2 separate regions of the Homo sapiens genome follow, and region 1 is linked to region 2. The links are contacts of gene promoters, found by promoter capture Hi-C in blood cells and fetal thymus (Javierre and others, 2016). All regions are on one chromosome and are shown on one strand. The core of a region is centred on a gene start or on the middle of the fragment in contact, and the rest is flanking DNA. Distances in the headings are between cores, read along the strand shown.

Region 1 (6,197 bases), core at 3,121-5,620, about 48 Mb after region 2:
AGACAGCCAAGGAGGAAAAGAGAACCACGATTCGCCGGCCAATCATATCAACGCGCACGGAAGGACCCCGGGAAGAGCCGGCGTGGGGGCGTGGGCGCGCCACGAGGCTGACCGCGCCGATGCCTGATTTAGGCTGCCTACGGCCCCGCCTCACAGACTTTTGGCCACACCCCTGGAACTCTAGACTGACCAATCCAGAACCAGAACAACTCGAGCCGACTAGGTTTACGCAAGCAGGTGTTCAATTTCAGTTCAATTCATTATGTTGAATTGTACGTATTTGAATTCCGGTAAACCAAATTAGTTTAAATTGCCTTCTTCCGAGTTAGAGGTGGGTAAACTTGGAAAGCATTTTAGGATATCCTCTCTAACAGTCTCCTCGTTATATGGCTAGGGAAACTGCAGAAACCCTGACTCTAAAACCTTTGTTATTTCAAGTACTTAACATTGCCCATTCTAATTTATTATTCATGAGTATTATTTCTGTGACTTTTATGACGAATCTTTACTTTAAAAGATCTCTTTAATTTGTATTTTTCTGCAAATCTTGGTCATTATGCAAAATTAGATTTTGAAAAATATTTGGCCGGGCGCGATGGCCACGCCTGTAATCCCAGCACTTTGGGAGGGCAAGGCGGGCGGATCACCTGAGGTCAGGAGTTCGATACCAGCCTGGCCAACATGGCGAAACCACGTATCTACGAAAATAAATAAATAAATAAATACAAAATACAAAATTAGCGGGGCGTGGTGGCTCATGCCTGTAATCCCAGCTACTCGGGAGGCTGAGGCAGGAGAATCGCCAGAACCCGGGAAGCAAAGGTTGCAGTGGGCCGAGATCACACCATTGCACTCCAGCCTGGGCAACAGGAGCGAAAATCCGTCTCAGAAAAAAAAAAAAAAGAAAAGAAAAAAAAGGAAAAAAAAATTGGAAGCCAGGGGCAGTGGCTCACGCCTATAATCCCAACACTTTGGGAGGCCGAAGCAGGTAGATGACCTGAGGTCAGAAGTTCGATACCAGCCTGGGCAAAATGGCGAAACCCCGTCTCTACTACAAAAAAAAAAAAATTGGCCGGGCGTGGTGGTGCATGCCTCTAATCCCAGCTATCTGGGAGGCTGAGACAGGAGAATCGCTTGAACCCGGGAGGCGGAGGTTGCAGTGGGCCGAGATCGCACCATTGCACTCCGCCTGGGCAATAAGAGCGAAACTCCGTCTCAGAAAAAAAAAAAAAAAAAGGAAAAAAAAATTGATTGCTCCAGAAATATTTTCTTTAACGTGAAACAGACATGTAAAGAATGTAAATATATATGTTCCGGAGAAATAATAAGAAGAATTTCCCAAATGTTAGTGCAGACGAGGTGTCCAAGGTGCAGGCTTTGCGGGCAGCTTTCCTATTTTCTTTTTTTTTTTTTCCTGAGACAGAGTCTAGCTCTTGTCACCCAGGTTGGAGAGCAATGGCTTCATCGCGGCTCACTGCAACCTCGACCTCCCGGATTCAAGCGATTCTCCTGGCTCAGCTTCCAGAGTAACTAAAATTACAGGCCTGCGCCACAATGCCCAGCTAATTTTTGTATTTTTAGGAGAGACGGGGTTTCACCATGTTGGCCAGGCTGGTCTCCAACTCCTGACCGCAAGTGATCCGCCCCCGCCTCGGCCTCTCAAAGTGCTGGGATTATAGGCGTGAGCCACCGTCCCCGGCCGACTATTTTTCTTTTTTTTCGTTTTTTGTTTTTTTTTTTTTTTTTGAGACCGCATCTCGCTCTGTCACCCAGGCTGGAGTGCAGTGGCGGGATCTCGGGTCACTGCAACATCCGCCTCCCAAGTTCAAGCGATTCTTCTGCCTCAGCCTCCCGAGGTGACCAACTATCCTTATTCTTAAGAAAATAGTCAGCCGGCTGGGCACGGTGGCTCATGCCTGTAATCCCAGCACTCTGGAAGGCCGAGGCAGGCAGATCACGAGGTCAGGAGTTCAAGACCAGCCTAGCCAATATGGTGAAACCCCGTCTCTACTAAAAATACAAAAATTAGCCAGGCATGGTGGTGCGCACCTGTAGTCCCAGCTACTCGGGAGGCTGAGGCAGAAGAATATTTATTGAGTGATTGTAATGTGCCTGTTACATTCTAATTACTTTTACCTTCATTTTGCTATTTAACCTTCCCATTGACTCTAAGAAATAGGATACATATTACTCACCCATGTTATAAATGGGGAAACTAACACACAATAAGATTAAATAACTTTCCCAAGTTCACACTTTATATACGTGTATATATACACGTATGTGTATATATACACATATATCTATATCTATATCTATATATATATATATATATATTTTTTTTTTTTTTTTTTTTGAGGCAGAGTCTTGCTCTGTTGCCCAGGCTGGAGTGCAGTGGCACAATCTTGGCTCACTGCAACCTCCGCCTCCCGGATTTAAGCGATTCTCCTGCCTTAGCCTCCTGAGTTGCTGGAATTACAGGAATGCGCCACCACACCAGGCTAATTTTTGTATTTTTTAGTAGAGACGGAGTTTCACCATATTGGTCAGGCTGGTCTCAAATTCCTGACCTCATGATCTGCCCACCTCGGCCTCCCAAAGTGCTGAGATTACAGGCGTGAGCCACCGCGCCCGGCCTGCACAACTTTATTTTTTATTTTTTTTTATTTTTGAGATGGAGTTTCACTCTTGTCGCCCAGGCTGCAGTGCAATGGCATGGTCTCGGCTCACTGCAACCTCCACCTCCCAGCTTCAAGCGATTCTCCTGCCTCAGCCTCCCGAGTACCTGGGATTACAGGCGCACACCACCAACCCCAGCTAATTTTTGTATTTTTAGTAGAGATGGGGTTTCACCATGTTGACCAGGCTGGTCCCGAACTCCTGACCTCAGGTGATCCGCCCACCTTGGCCTCCCAAAGTGCTAGGATTACAGGCGTGAGCCACCACGCCTGGCTGCCTACACAACTTTAAATGGTGAAAGCTAGACTCCCATGATGGCACTGTGATTTCATAACTTTTGCTCTTAACCTCTAGATAAGTCACACACGATCCAACCCTTGTTGGTATAATATTGTAAACATCAGAGCCGGGTGTGGTGGCTCACACCTGTAATCCTATCACTTTGGGAGACTGAGGCGGGCGGATCACGAGGTCAGGGATTCGAGACCAGCCTGGCCAACATAGTAAAACCCCGTCTCTACTAAAAATACAAAAATTAGCTGGGCGTGGTGGCGGGCGCTTGTAGTCCCAGCTACTCGGGAGGCTGAGCCAGGAGAATCGCTTGAACCCGGGAGGCGGAGGTTGCGGTGAGCCGAGATTTCGCCACTGCACTCCAGTCTAGGCGACAGAGCGAGACTCCGTCTCAAAAAAAAAAAAAAAAAAAAAACAAAAAAAACCCATAATGTTGACTATATATATATATATATATATATATATATAGTCAACATTATTTCATGATTAAGTGATGGAGTACCGAAATGAGTTAGAAAAACCTGATATGCCTCGTTTGTCTGTGACATTGTGTTTTGCTAGTGAGGATCCATGGCGTCTGAAAATGAGATAGCGTCCCTTCTTAAAAATTGAAAGTTGTTAAACACTTTTGTTAAGTTCTGTTTTGAGTTTCTCACAAATAATGAGGACTTAGTTCTAATTCTAAGCGCTAAGCCCTGTGGTGATGTGATTTCCTTGCTAGGCTCATGCACTAATATATCACACTAGGATCACCTCCCACAAGTTCTCACAGACTGTAGACAACTTATTTCAAGACATGAATGATCTTTACTTTCCATTCTCCCTTTTCTTCTGTAGATTACCATGGCTGTTTTCACTCTAACAGATTTTCAACTGTTTTTGTAATCAATAATGTAAGTTTAATTCTTCCCCCCTCCCTCCAAATAACTTCATGAACTGGAGGCACATGTGCGCCCATATTTTCCGCTCTGTTTTCCTTTGTTGGTCCTCCACAGATAGTGCCCTCTGTTGGATGGGCCGGTTCATTTTAGCTTCCACCTTCCCTTAAAACAATTAGAAGCTCTTAATTTAGATGGTACTGATGTTAATGATGATGATTTTCCATTTTATGCAAGTTTTGGCCCTCTGCTTGTCTAAAAGCCTTGAGGCAAAGAGTTATATGCAGTTTCTCTGCGGGTGTCTGATTACGTGGAGAAATTGACCAGAAATGGGATTTTTAAAATACAGCACACGCCTCGGTGCGGCTTCCAGTAAGCGCCACCAGGTGACGGTGCGGGGAAAGGGAAAAAAAAAAAAAAAAAAGGCATGCCGGAAGTCTCTCTTGACAGACAGACGCGCGGGCGAGTAGCGGAAGAGGAAGCGGACACGTGGGACACTCTACGGTGGCCGAGAGGATGCCGCAGATGTGTTAGCGGCGAGTCCAGAAGCAGCCCCAGGAGGTGCTGGGGGCATCGTTTCTCTAATCTGGCCTCCCGAGTGCCAAGGAGGCGTCCCGGCAGCGGTCATCATGGTGAAGGAGCAGTTCCGGGAGACGGATGTGGCCAAGAAAATGTAAGACGGAGTAAGAGTGGCCAAAGGGCTGAGAAATAGGGCAAGGGGTCCGAGGTCAGCGGTCCCGGGTCTTGCAGGGTCAGAGATGGGGTGCAATGGGAAGGGGAGGGCCAGTAGTCCATAGGTGTGACCAGCGCCCAGAACTACCAGCGTTGGTCAAAGAGCATTGGTCAGGCTGAGGGGATTTCAGCACCTCGAGAGGTCCCTGGACTTGGGCGGAGAAGTCGGAGTGGCCTGAGCCTTAATGATTTGTGCACCCTGGGCCAAAGCTCGCATTCTCCTGAAGTCATACAATGATCCCTGTTCTTCAGCGAACTATCCCCTGCTGCAGCGAGGGGAGCAATCTGGGGCGGGGACTGTCTCTAATTCTGTCAGCCGCAGAGCGTCTGACACGGAGGCAGTAGTTGCTTACCAAAAGGATGGGGTTGCCCACTAGAAAGCTGTACCACAGGCCGACGGATGGCAGTGTCAGAAATAAAGCTGCTATCCGGACTTTTGCCTTCAGAAATACGTTATTAGGCGGTGGCTCCTTCTTAGAGTTCTCGGTAAGAAAGTGAATCCAGCCGGGCGCGGTGGCTTACTCCTGTAATCCCAGCACTTTAGGAGGCCGAAGCGGGTGAATCTCCTGAGCTCAGGAGTTTGAGACTAGCCTGGGCAACGTGGCGAAACCCCGTCTCTATCAAAAATACAAAAATTAGCAGGCGTGGTGGCGCGCCCTTGTGGTCCCAGCTACTCGGGAGGCTGAGGCCGAAAAATCACTTGAGCCTGGGAGGCAGAGGTTGCAGTGGGCAACCTCCTGCATTCCACCCTGAGTGACAGAGTGAGACGGTGTCTCAAAAAAAAAAGTGAATTCATCATTCTTACAGCAGACACTGAGGAGGATACTGCGCGTTATTCCCAGTGTTGGACGTTAAAGATACGGTCTGAATAAAACTTTTACTGCCTAATCTAGTTGGAGAAGGTACACAAGTCAACACTGGGTACGACAAGTGCAATGACAAGGGTAGGTCCAGGGGGTTTTGAGAGCACATAATGGGTCCAGGCAAAAGAAAGCAGACCAAACTGCTTTTTTCAAGGAGCAGACCTGAGGGAGAGAACACAGGTGATCAGAAGGAAGCAGAAGACTTGAAGCTGTGTTAAGAAGTCATCTTGTAGGCAGTGAGGAACCTTTGAAGGATTTTCAACAGGAGAGTATCTTGATAAGAGTTCTCCTTCTGGAAAATCTCTTGATTCATGGTGGAAAGAATTAGAGGTCGAGAGACCTTGAGACGGATATACAGAATGCCTTGCTTGGGCAGCTGTGTGGATGGTTGCCATTCACTAGAACAGGTGTCTTACCTAGGTGAATGCAGCATTCTCCCATGTGGTAGCTCTACATCGACACTGGCCCTTCACACCCACCTGTACACCTGCGCCCAGTCAGATATAATACATTCTCACAAAACAGAGAAAGTGCTTCTGTCAAAGTGCAAATTAAGGGTATTGTCAATTAAAATCCTCTAGCAGAGGCCAGGAGTGGTGGCTCACGTCTGTAATCCCAGCACTTTGGGAGGCCATGGCAGGCAGATCATGAGGTCAGAAGTTCAAGACCAGACTGGCCAATATGGTAAAACCTCATCTCTACTAAAAATACAAAAATTAGCTGGGTGCGGTGGCGCATGCCTGTATGCCTGTAA
Region 2 (6,354 bases), core at 1,115-3,614:
AGAAGAATGAATGTGTAGCTGGGCTCCCTGATCTCTATCTGCAAGACAACAGAATCTAGAAGATGGAACTAAAATGCCAAAAACAAAACCTAGTTGCTTTTAAACACTAACAAGATTAGTCCTTGAGGACCCTAAATCAGACCTTGATAAGTGACACAATGAACCTGGGGCTCTGATGAAATAATATATTTAAAGGCACTTCAGGTTTTAACGGTTTCAGAATTTAGGTCTTAGCTGAAGAACATCGCAGAGGAAATCAGACCTCCTTTTACCTTGCCACCCTGACTATGTATATATTTAAGTCTTCCTTAATTGTAAAATTGCAAGGCCCTGGAATTGCTTAGAGCAATTCCAGCTCCAATTTGAACTCTTTAAGTCCAGCTTTGCAGACTTCAAATGCTAACTTAGCCAGATTATGTGAGCAGCAAAACACAAGGGGTCGGGTGGGAGTGTTCCAAACAGGATCAAACTAAACCAAATAACAAACTGTCATTATTCAGGACTTAAACTTATTCCTTAGATATAAATACATTCTGTAAATAATGCTCATCTAGTGTTTTTTTCTTTGTCTAGACAGACATCTCGGACCTCTGTCCCAGACTATTATGGCACCACCAGGGAAATGGGCGGCAAATGGATTATCTGTCCAGCACCCTTTTCCTGGGTATGGGCTCATCTCCACATGGCTTCAGCAGGAACAGTCACGTTTGTAGAAAAGAGCCCTGTCCCTCATTCCCAGGTGATTTAGAATTAAGACTGTGGTGGTGTGATAGATTTCCCATGTTAACACAAGCAGCATTGATTTCTATAACCCAAAAGTAATAAAAGAGCCAGTCAAAGTTCTAAGTGAAAAATGGTGAGATGGCATTCAAGGCATAGAGCCAAAGTAAAATTTGTAAGGGAAGGAAGATTGATCACATACCCACACCATGGTGTCACCTCTAATCCTGCATCCATGCTTCTCTCCATGCTCCCCTCCATGCTCATCATGACTCATGATTACCTCTCTGATTTTATTTCCTATCACTCTCTCTTCCTTATTCTGATCCAGCCATCTAGGCTGCCTTTCCGTCCCTCAATTGTGAAGACTCTTGATTTTCTTGTAAATGAACTAGAAAGCCAATGCAGCAATCTAAGCAGAGGCCTGAGATCAGACCTATAAGATCTCTCTGACTGTAAGTGGAGTATAGACTGATTGTAGGGGAACAAAAATGGAGAAAAGAACGCCGGTTAAAAGCTGTTACATTAAATAGTAGTCCAGGCAAGAGATGATAGAGGTGTGGACTACGATGGTCTCAGAATTAGTGCTGAGAAATGTCTGGATAACAGGATTTACTGATGGGCTGGATATAGGATGAGGAAAGGGAGGAATTAAAGTTAAGCCCCAGGTTTTGGGTTAGAGCAGCTGGTGACTTTAGGGGCCATTTATAGAAATGGTGACGATTAAGAGAGGGGCATGAATTATTATACAAATTCTGCTTTGGACAAGTTAAGGCTGAGGTATCTATTTAAACATTCAGTAGGCTGAAGGATCATTCAGTCCTAATTGTTTACTAAACAAATAATAAGTACCTATATTGCCAGGCACTACGGTAGGACCTAGTCTGAAGAAAGGAACACAGTTCTATGAGACTATGAAACCAAAGATTTACCCACGACTTGGTCAGCTGCCCCAGGAGCCAGAAAATACAGCCTAGCTGAGATCTGAAGAAGGAAGGGAAAACTGCAGGATAAAGAAGAGCATTTGAAAAGGCTTCTACGGTAGAACGCGGCAAGAGCCTTCAAGAAACTGAGGGCCCAAGTGAGTGCCGCCCGCAGAGTGAAGAGGAGGACAGCTGCTGCCCCGAGGGGAGAGGGCCCCCTCTGCGAGCCCGGGGTGGCCGATTCAGGATCTGAGGCTTCAGCCTGAGAACTAAAGAGGACGAGAAGAACACACCTGTTGTGGCGGGCTTTTTCGGGGAGGACGCGGGTTGGGAGATTAACTGGACCGGACTAGACCTTTAAAAAATAACTACTATGGCTGCAGTGTGTTAAAGACCGAGGAGAAACCTGAGAAAGAACTTATCTCCAGTTTCTCCTCACAGACCCTCAGGGTCAGGGAAGACCCTACACTATTTTTACACAGCCTGGGCTTGCCAAAAAGTTTTTCTCAGGTATAAACCAACTAGGGGAGCGTGTCCTTCTCACCTCGTCAATGACCTCGTCCTCTTCATCCTTTTCCTTGTCACTGTCATCATCGTCTTCATCCTCATTTTCGACTTCTTTTTCCTCTTCCTCGTCGCGCTGGACTGGGGGATCCGGCGGCTGCGGAACCCCACTTTCCACGGCACGCCGCTTAGACCTGGACGCCATGTTGCCGCTCACACTGCGCCTGCGCAGCTTCCCCTTGCCTGACCTTCCGGACCAGCCCATAGTAGCCAAGGGGGTGAGGAACTACGAAGAAGCTCGGCGCTGAGTGCACGTCAACCCCAATGCCCCTGCTGGATTCCGCAGCCATGACCCCTTACAGTCACGTCCAGCTTGCGGTCCCATCTTGCTTTTTTCTTCCGCTTTCCACCCTCCATCACTCCTCCCAAAGCTTCCCCTCCCCTTCCCGTAGTGGTTCAACCCATCTAACCTCTGGCCTCATTCCGTGGCCTGGATGGCGGTGCGCATGCGCGAGCGCCTAGCTGCGCGCAGCCACCCACGCGACCCCAGTCTGAGGTGCGGGGTCCTGGGGCCCGGCGCGGGTGGCCGCCGCGGCCCCTCGGGCTGCGTGGGGAGGGGGCTTCCGCCCCTGTTGTCATTGCTCCTGCAGCCTTTTCGCTGGGACTGCGCGACACCGCCCCCCGACCGGGTGCCCGCTGTGTGCCAGGCCGGGTGCTGGGCACGGTCCCGCGAGGTAGGTGTCGCCGCCCGCTGTACCGGTACGGACGCCGAAGCCCGCGGGCGTGCAGGGGCCCGGCCCCGGGCGGTGTGTGACACAGTGGGGCCAGGGCCCCGAGGCTTCCGCGGACCTGGGCCTGCCCAGGCGGGGATGTCCGCTGCCGCTACCGCTGCGCCGGTGACGGAAGGCGCCTGCCCAGCCTACCCTCGCCGAGCTTCTGGAGCGCATTTCTTGACCTAAAAGTTTTTTTAAAGCCGGCACCGCAGTTAAAAATGCTTCGGCGGGGGGCCGGGCCCGGTGTCTCGCGCCTGTAATCCCAGCACTTAGGGAGGTCAAAGCGGGTGGATCACCAGAGGTCAGGAGTTCGAGACCAGCCTGGCCAACATGGCAAAACCTCATCTCTGCTAAAAGTACAAAAATTAGCCGGGCGTGGTGGCGGACACCTGTAATCCCAGCACTTTGGGAGGCCGAGATGGGTGGATCACTTGAGGTCAGGAGTTCGAGACCAGCCTGCCCAACATGGCGAAATCCCATCTCTACTAAAAATACAAAAACTAGCCAGGTGTGGTGGTGCGCGCCTGTAGTCCCAGCTACTCAGGAGGCTAAGGCAGGAGAATCGCATGCCCCCAGGAGACGGAGGTTGCAGTGAGCCGAGATCGCGCCACCGCACTCCACACTCCAGCCTGGGCGACAGAGGTAGACCCTATCTAAAAAAAAAAAAAAATGCTTCGGGGCCAGTGGGGTAGTCTAGGTTAAAGACCCGAGCCTATTTGGAGAGAAGAGTGGAGGGGACTGCGGCCAACTGCAGAGCGAGCGCCAGCCCCTGTGGCAGGTGGGGATGCAGCCTGGGGCAGCCAGGTCTTCCCATTGCGAGAGAAACAGGGTTCATCAGCTTTCTAGGAATAAGATCTGCGGTTCTCAATTGATTTTTCTCTGTAAAATGAGGGGGGTGGGTTGGATATGTTTGATTCTAGGAATGGTGTGAGCTGCGCTAATAGGCTGCTTCTGTTTAAGCAGGGTAACATCTGATAAATCAGTGATCCTTCATCAGTACGAGATGGCGTGCCCTAAAGGTCCCCAGGAGCCCAGATTGCCCATAATCGTGTTCTGTGATTTCGGTCTTTCCTGGGAGTCTCTTGTCTACCCAGCCATGTCATGGATATTAAAGTAATACTTACACATCAGCGCTCCACATCTGATGGGGCAGCTTGAAATGGCCTCTTTGGGTCGCACAACTGCAAAAACATGTTCCTGTAATGGAGAAGAGAGGAAGCTGTCAAAAAAGACCCATCAAAAGGCTAAGATTAGAAAAAAGACTCAGAAAGACCATGTGAACATATCAACAGAGTTGCACTGAGATACCATAGCCAATTTTTTTTCCTGTTTCTTTATACTTTTTTTATGGTGGTAAAAGATACATAACATACATTTTACCATCTTAACTATTTTTAAAGATACAGTTCAGTGGCATGAAGTGCATTCACATTGTGCAACCATCACCACCACTATCCATTGGCAGAACTCTTTTCATCTAGCAAAATTGAAACTGTAGTTAAACAACTCCCTTATTTTCCCTCCATGACCTTTCTACTTTCCATCTTTATTAATTTGACTATTCTAGAAACCTCATGTAAGTGGAGTAACACAATATTCTTCCTTTTGTGACTATTTCATTCAGCATGATGTCTTCAAAGTTTATCCCATGCTGTAGCATGCATTAGGATTTCCTTCCTTGTTAAGGCTGAATAATACTCCATTGCATGTATAGACCACATTTTGTTTATCTACTTATCTGTCGGTAAACATTTTGGTTACTTCTACATTTTAGCTGTTGTAAATAATGTTGCTATGAACATGAGTATCAAATATCTGTTCGAGTCCCTGCTTTCAATTCTTTGGGGTATATATGTAGCAGGGGAATTGCTAGATCATATGGTAATTCTATGTTTATTTTTTTGAGGAACTATACTTTTTTGTAGTTTGCAAATCTTTCACAGTAAACAGGATCACTTTTGTAAGACAAGTAGGGGAAAAAGCCTTACTTTATGCCCTCAGATTAGTTCCCAGTGTTGAGCTCATGGTCAAAGTGTGAATTAGAATAGTGAATGTGAAAGTAAATACAGTACTGACCCTAGGGAACTGAACTCAGCAGGTAGTAGATTGCTTACCACTCGTTCAGTGTTCATCTTTAGCTCAGAATTTATCTTAATGAGGCAGAGGGATGGTAGCAAGTGGTTAGGAGACTGAGCATGGGCTTCAGACCAGGATCCAAATTCCATCTCTCCCACTTACTGTGCTGTGTGACCTGGGACAAGTTACTCAAACCTCCCAGGGACTTGGTTTCACCTCCTGCAAATAAGGCTAACACCACCTACCTTGCAGGTTTAAGTGAGGATTGCAGTCTTGCATGTAAAATGCTTAGCCCAGTGTGATAGTTACTTTTACATGTCATCTTGACTGGATCACGGATGCCCAGATATCTGGTTAAACATTATTTCTTGGTGTGTCTGTGAAGTTGTTTTCAGAAAAGATGAGCATTTGAATGGATAGACTGAGTAAAGTGGATTGCCCTCCCCAAAGTAGGTGGGCAGCATCCAGTCTGTTGAGGGCCTAAATAGAACAAAAAGCCAAAGAAGGAAGAATGTGTCCTGTCTCCTCCTGCATGCTTGATCTGGGATATCTTCTGCCCTTGGTGCTCCTGGTGCTGAGGCCTTCACACTCAGGCTGGAACCTACACCCTTGGCTCTCAGGCCTTCAGGCTACAACACCAGCCTTCCTGCTAACAAGTCTCCAGCTTGCAGACAGCAGATCATGGGACTTCTCAGCCTCCATAACTGCATGAGCTAATACCTTATAACAAATCCCTTTCTAGATGTAAATATATGCCATTGGTTCTGTTTCTCTGAAGAACTCTAATACACCCAGTAATTAACATGAGTAAATGCTCAGTAAAAGGGTGACTGTTGTTATTGCTGATACCCAGAACACCATGACATAGAAGGTACGGGTTTGAGGTTTGGTTCTTTCTTACCAGTAAGGTGCCCTTATTCCAGTCATTTTTTTTTTCTTTTCTTTTTCATCAATGATTGATGAACATAAGTATGAGGGTAAAATGGCAGAGCAAGCATTAGACTGTAAATCTAGAGACAGGTTGAGCCCTCTTTTTACCAGTGCCGAGGTGAGTTTCATGTTGGAAGCTTCAGGAGCAGCTTCATTTCTGCTGGGGCTTCTCCCGCCTTTTTCCCCCTCAATGGGAAATAACAGGTTTCGTTATTTTCATTGGAAAAAAAGGCAGAGGAAACCCCAGACACTGCACGGTTTTTAGGCCCTAGCCTCACCAGTCTCAAGCCTCCTATCAAGGAGGGCCATATAGTGCCTCTGATCTGCTTGATGCAGACCCTAGGGTCCTTCCCACTCCCATGAGCCACCCACCAGAGTGAGCTAAGAAATCAACTGGCAGAGAGCAGAGTCACGTATGGCCAAGAGGA

Evidence for each region. The method cuts DNA at HindIII sites, captures the fragments that hold promoters and counts their contacts. A CHiCAGO score of 5 or more calls a contact.
Region 1: a contact is called between the fragment with the promoter of POLR3A here and the fragment with the promoter of BCCIP in region 2, in 1 of 17 cell types (naive CD8 T cells). The highest score is 7.6, in naive CD8 T cells.

What each region holds. Positions count from the first base shown.
Region 1 is chr10:78,027,688-78,033,884 of GRCh38, reverse strand. POLR3A (RNA polymerase III subunit A) reads left to right here and starts at 4,370. Exons shown (of 31, transcript NM_007055.4): 1 at 4,370-4,521. The coding sequence starts at 4,478. It overlaps RPS24 (ribosomal protein S24), which reads right to left and starts at 22. Exons shown (of 6, transcript NM_033022.4): 1 at 1-22. RefSeq lists enhancers at 1-222, 4,201-4,450. The HindIII fragment of the contact is 13,008 bases long and covers 1-6,197 here.
Region 2 is chr10:125,819,556-125,825,909 of GRCh38, reverse strand. It overlaps BCCIP (BRCA2 and CDKN1A interacting protein), which reads right to left and starts at 2,364. Exons shown (of 7, transcript NM_078468.3): 1 at 2,188-2,364. The coding sequence starts at 2,352. UROS (uroporphyrinogen III synthase) reads left to right here and starts at 2,652. Exons shown (of 10, transcript NM_000375.3): 1 at 2,652-2,881. MIR4484 (microRNA 4484) reads right to left here and starts at 6,170; the gene lies at 6,088-6,170. RefSeq lists silencers at 1,600-1,819, 2,576-3,005 and enhancers at 2,296-2,495, 2,039-2,724. The HindIII fragment of the contact is 3,281 bases long and covers 1-2,580 here.